Linked DNA regions of Homo sapiens: region 1 is linked to region 2. Evidence: promoter capture Hi-C in 16 types of primary human blood cells and fetal thymus (Javierre and others, 2016). All regions are on one chromosome and are shown on one strand. Each heading gives the region's core, a stretch centred on a gene start or on the middle of the fragment in contact. The rest is flanking DNA. Distances are from core to core; before and after follow the strand shown. Region 1 holds the start of LIMA1 (LIM domain and actin binding 1). Region 2 holds the start of AQP5 (aquaporin 5).

The links. Contacts are between HindIII fragments. The CHiCAGO score rates a contact against its expected background, and 5 or more counts as called.
Region 1: a contact is called between the fragment with the promoter of LIMA1 here and the fragment with the promoter of AQP5 in region 2, in 6 of 17 cell types (M2 macrophages, M0 macrophages, M1 macrophages and 3 more). The highest score is 9.5, in M2 macrophages.

The regions. Positions count from the first base shown.
Region 1 is chr12:50,282,121-50,284,820 of GRCh38, forward strand. LIMA1 (LIM domain and actin binding 1) reads right to left here and starts at 1,400. Exons shown (of 11, transcript NM_016357.5): 1 at 1,300-1,400. LOC107984505 (a long non-coding RNA gene) reads left to right here and starts at 1,501. Exons shown (of 2, transcript XR_001749144.2): 1 at 1,501-1,762. RefSeq lists a silencer at 1,311-1,620. The HindIII fragment of the contact is 1,384 bases long and covers 692-2,075 here.
Region 2 is chr12:49,960,609-49,963,308 of GRCh38, forward strand. AQP5 (aquaporin 5) reads left to right here and starts at 1,264. Exons shown (of 4, transcript NM_001651.4): 1 at 1,264-1,772. The coding sequence starts at 1,410. AQP5-AS1 (AQP5 and AQP2 antisense RNA 2) reads right to left here and starts at 2,175. Exons shown (of 3, transcript NR_110591.1): 1 at 2,059-2,175. The HindIII fragment of the contact is 7,065 bases long and covers 1-2,700 here.

The DNA.
Region 1 (2,700 bases), core at 150-2,649, 320 kb after region 2:
CTTTCACGCCAACTCTATAATTTTTTGAAGATCTATCTAAAACGTGATCATCCTGCACCCAGGTTATACCTCTACAGGAACTTAGAACATGTTGTTAGGGGTCATGTTCTTTTGTGTCTACATCATACCTCAGAAGAAAGGATTGGTGTTATTTCATGGCTCCTGAAATATTTAGCATTTGTGAATAGTATTGGTAACCAAGCAGATAAAAGGTACTGTGTTAAACCATTTAAATCAAGAGCAAAAGAAAGAATACTTAATGCAAAAGAAAACCTCTCCCCAAAATGGGCATTGCCTTAAAAACTGATAACTCCCTAATTACCTTTGACTAACCTGAAAAGTCAAGTCAATTGAACCATCTGGATTAGGCAGATCTGGATTAGGCAGACTTATCTTTTATTTTTATTTATTTATTTATTTTTTTGTAGAGACAAGGGTCTCGCTAAGTTGCCTTGGCTGGTCTCAAACACCTGGGCTCAAGCGATCCTCCCGCCTCAGTTTCCCAAAGTGTTGGGATTATAGGCGTGAGCCACTGCGCCCGTCCAAGGCAGACTTTTGAAAGCTGGAATTAGGTGCAAGACAATAGTAGTTCAAATATCTCTCACCAGGATCAGCTAAACCGTTCTTGCAAGCATCAGTAAGGAGGCTAGGAAGGGTGCCAGATGGTTCGTTCCTAGCAGCTACAACTTCAAGCTTTAGTATGTGTAGCCAGGGGTGTACAATTACCTTACATTAACACCAACATATGTCGGGGGCAAGTGCCAGCGATATATACACGATAGCGATTCGGGGATGACACATCGGCTGCAAGGACTGCTATATTCTCAACATTCCTCAAAAGGGTGTAAGTGTCTTAAACAGAGTTCAGCTGGCGTAATGGAAGGGAGAAAAAATCGAAAAGAGAGGGAATGGCTGAAAATGAAGGAAAAAGAACAGTTGAATATTACAGTATTTCCCTGGAAGGAGGGTATTTGGAGTTTTAATGAATTGTCACCTTCCTCCACCACACCAGAAAGTATACAGTTAGAATGCAGTGTTCTCGGTGGGAGAGGACGGGGTATTTGCAGCTCCCGCCCTTGGGCAGCAAAGGCTCAGCCCGACATAAGCACTCCCCACCCAGCGCAGGCCCCAGAAGTGAGGAAAGAACGGAGGATCAGCGTCCCTCGACCCCTTATCTCGAGGGGGAGGGACTCACACTCCTTGCACTCCCCCCGCCCCAAAAGTCGAAGGAGAAAGAGGGTGTGGAGAGAAGCCGGGGTCTTCCCGCACTCTCCGGTTGTGGAGAGAGAAGGCCCTTACCTGGCTAAAAGCCGCCTTTCCTCTGCGCTGCTACCAGCCCTGTCACAGGTCCCGGCGCTCTACCTAGCGCACCTGTCGCGACCAAGCTGCTAACACCTACTGCTCCTGCGGCCCCGCCCCGGACCCCGCCCACCGCCGCGGGGGCGCGCACGCCAGACAGCCTCCCGTGCGGCCTCGGGCTGAGCGTGCGCGCCACCGGCTACGTGCCCAGCGCTCGCGTCTGCTCCAGTCGCTCTGGCGGTGCGGGGCGCTGGCGACGGGACAGGGTTTTTGCTGCCCGGGGCCTAGTCTACCTCGGCACGCTTTTCTCTGAAGGAGACACGCACTTGCACGACGTGGGCCTCTGTGCAGCTCTACTTTGTCCTTAACTCCTCTGACTCAACGTTATCGCAGTTTGACTCTGGAGCCACTCAGGTTTTTCCTAAGCTCAACTCTAGCCAGCTAGGTTCCTGGTGCTTTGGGGGTAAGTTGTGTGCAGGGAGGGTGTTTTACAGGAGGCTGTGTGGTGTAGTGGAAAAAGCTGAATTAAGTACATTAATCCTGAAAACGGTTTGACAAGGGCAGATGACGTCCAAGTTCTCCAACAGCTGTTTTTACTCCTCCATTCAGAATAGGAGCTGTGCTAATGGTTTGGAGACCGTCAATTGGCCTAGCACTTGGCCATCCTGCCCCCAAATTCTTGTCCCAGTTCCGTGCCAGCTGCATGATGCCTTTTGATAGTATCCTTCTTTCCTGTACCTCAAGCATAGTAGGGTTTCAGACCACAAGTTTTCTGAAGCTTTTCGGAATTCATGCAGCTTGATGCGTTATTAGTAGGGGCTGCTCGTGGGAAAACGCTTGTAATTACACTTCCTCAAGAAGTTAATGAAAATGTGTGAGAAGAGAGATTTCCAACAGGTGATGAATATGCCAGCCAGTTATTCCCTTCTTCCTTCAAATATCCAGCCTAGACTGATTTCTGGATAGGTATTGTAGAAATAAAAATTTCAGACAAAACAAACTTAGATTTTGAATCGGACAACAGTCAGAACCAAAAGAGGCTCAGACACCCCTGCTCTAGCTGCCCAGGCATCAAACTTTATAGGCTGAACACGAAAGTAAAGAAATTTGATTGGCTACAGCTAAGCGTTTGCCTTATTTGGGTATGGTCACATGGGAGGTCCCTAATTATATAACCACTTGGCTGGTTGTCTGTTTGTGATTGGTTGAAACTCCATTCAAAATCAGGTACAAGGGGCCGGGCGCGGTGGCTCACACCTGTAATCCCAGCACTTTGGGAGGCTGAGGCAGGCGGATCCCCTGAGGTTAGGAGTTCGAGACCAGCCTAGCCAACATGGCGAAGCACCGTCTCCACTAAAAATACAAAAATTAGCCGGACGTGGTGGTAAGTGCCTGTAATCC
Region 2 (2,700 bases), core at 14-2,513:
GATGAGAGAAATGAATAGAGAGAGACAGAGAGACTAAGACAGCAAAAGGCAGGAAGGAAAAACAGAAAATGAGAAGGTGTGAGAGAGAGAGAGATGGAGAGGTGGAGAACAGAGAGACTGAAATGAGAAAGAGACCTCTCGGAGAGAGACCGAGAGGAAGAGGCTGGCAGAGGGAGAGGGTCAGAGACCAAAGACAGAGACAAAAAGAGAAATAGGGTTTTGCAAAGACTGACTGACAGAAACAGATTTCGAGGGGAGAGAGATCAAGACCAAGTGAGGGTTTGAAGGAGACTTAGGGGAGGTGGAGGAAGAGAAGGAGAGTCTTAGATCCAGGGTGAGGGGCTTCTAGCAGGAAGAGGGAAGACGCCAAGACCGCGCTTGGGAGGTCAGTGGTGCGTCTCTACCCCCCCTGCTCCCCCACTCCAACTCCCAGAGTCTCAAGGCCTCACGTCACACCCCCGTCCCGTCCCGTCGACAAGGGGAACCCCGGCCTGGGAGAGGGCGCCTCCGGGGATCCGTTGCCTAGTCCAGGTACTGCCCAGCTACCGGGCGTCGAGGATTGCGAAGCGTCGGGGCAGGCTGGCACGGTGCCCACTTTTCCCAAAACGCCAGCCTTCCAAGCCCAGAAGCTCGCCCGGCCCAGGCCGGGAGCGGCCCACGTCGGACGGCCGGACCGCCCTGCAGGACCCAGCCCGGCCGCCCGCCCCCGCCGCCGGCGGTGAGGGAGGTGAGCGGCGCCGACCTGCGGGACGAGCATCACTCCGACCCAGCCGGGGGTGAGGCGGGTCAGGATGCTCCGGTCGCAGGAGGAAAAGGAGGAGCTGGACCAAAAGCCCGAAGAGAAGAAAAGGGGAAGGCCGCGCACGGAGCGCGGTAAAGGCCGGCGGAGCTAGACGCCCCGAGGTCGGAGTGAAGCGCCGGGACCGAGCCCCGTCTCCCAGGGAGTCCGGGGCGCACGGCACCGAGGAGAGCGCGGGAGCCAACCTGGGCGCATCATGCGCAGGGCCCGGGACGCTGGGCCGGTCTACACCGCCGCCTGGGTCACGTGGCCCGGACGGGCCGGCGGCTGCCCCGGCCGGGGGGCGGGGGTCGCGCCGGGGTTGCGCTGGACGACGGAGAGCGGCGGGCCCGCAGCGGCCTGGAGCCTCCCAACCCGCGCGCCGCGCTGGCCCCCGAGCGTAGGAGCCGCCCCCTGCCCCCCCGCGCCGGCCCCGCGCCCGGCCGCCCGCCCCCTATATAGCGCGCCCCAGCAGGGCCCGCGCCAGGCCGCCAGCCTCGGAGTGGGCGCGGGACAGTGCGCGGCGCCCCGCAGCCAGGCCCCCGCCCCCGCCGCATCCACCTCCTCCGCCGCCTGCGACCCAACGGGCGCCCCCCGCCGCGGCAGCTGCCGCCGGGCCCCCGCGGCCACCATGAAGAAGGAGGTGTGCTCCGTGGCCTTCCTCAAGGCCGTGTTCGCAGAGTTCTTGGCCACCCTCATCTTCGTCTTCTTTGGCCTGGGCTCGGCCCTCAAGTGGCCGTCGGCGCTGCCTACCATCCTGCAGATCGCGCTGGCGTTTGGCCTGGCCATAGGCACGCTGGCCCAGGCCCTGGGACCCGTGAGCGGCGGCCACATCAACCCCGCCATCACCCTGGCCCTCTTGGTGGGCAACCAGATCTCGCTGCTCCGGGCTTTCTTCTACGTGGCGGCCCAGCTGGTGGGCGCCATTGCCGGGGCTGGCATCCTCTACGGTGTGGCACCGCTCAATGCCCGGGGCAATCTGGCCGTCAACGCGGTGAGTGCCCTGGGGGGGGGGTGGGAGCCTCGACCCTGGGGTGGGCTCAGGACCAGGCCTCTTACCCCACCTGGAAAAAAGGGGTGCCGCAGAGTGGGCCAGCCCACACCCTTCACCAGGAAGGCAAGAGCCTCCCAAGGCCAGGAAGGCAACTCTCCAGGCTGATATGTGCTCCCTTCCTGCCCACCTCCTCTCCCCCTCCCCTCATGCTGGCCCACCCTGGTCTCTCTCCAATGCCTGCTACCCCTCCTCTCCTGCCAGAAACTTCTGCCTCCTCCTGTCTCACCTTTGAGCTCCACCTTCCTCCTGGGCCCCTCACCTCTCCCATCACCTCAGTGGAGCGGTTGAGTAGAACCACCAGAGAAAAGCGGGCTGTCATCACGGCTTTGGGTGACCCTGGCCTGTCTGTGCTTCATTGTTCTCAGCGCCTCCATGGGGATGGTTGTGTCTGCCACAGCAGGTGTCAAGGGGCTCACATTTAGAAACCGTAGATAGGAACCCCCTAATGTGGGGCCAGTGCAGAGCAGTTTCTGTTGAGTATTGGTTCCCTCTTTCCCCAACCTGTGCTCCTCCCCTCAACCCCGCACCCCTGCCTCCCTCCCACCTCCTGCAGCCCCAGAGTCAGCCCCCAACCCCATGCAAACTGGGTTCATTAATCAAACACAGAGGAGGATTTGCTTGGCCATTGTCAAGCTGTGAGTCAGCCGCACTGGAGAGACGGGTTTAAGGCTGGCACTGGCATGGGGCCAGGCACGGGCAGGAGGCCGGGATGGGGTGTGAGGCAGGCAAACCGGGCAGCTGCCCACAGGATGGAGGGTAAATGCCAGCTTATGGGGGCTGGGGGTTGGGCAGAGCCATTGATAGGCCCGTGTCCAGGAAAAGCTACCCTGACGCTCTGCCCTTTGGCCACAGGCCTGAGCTTCAAGCC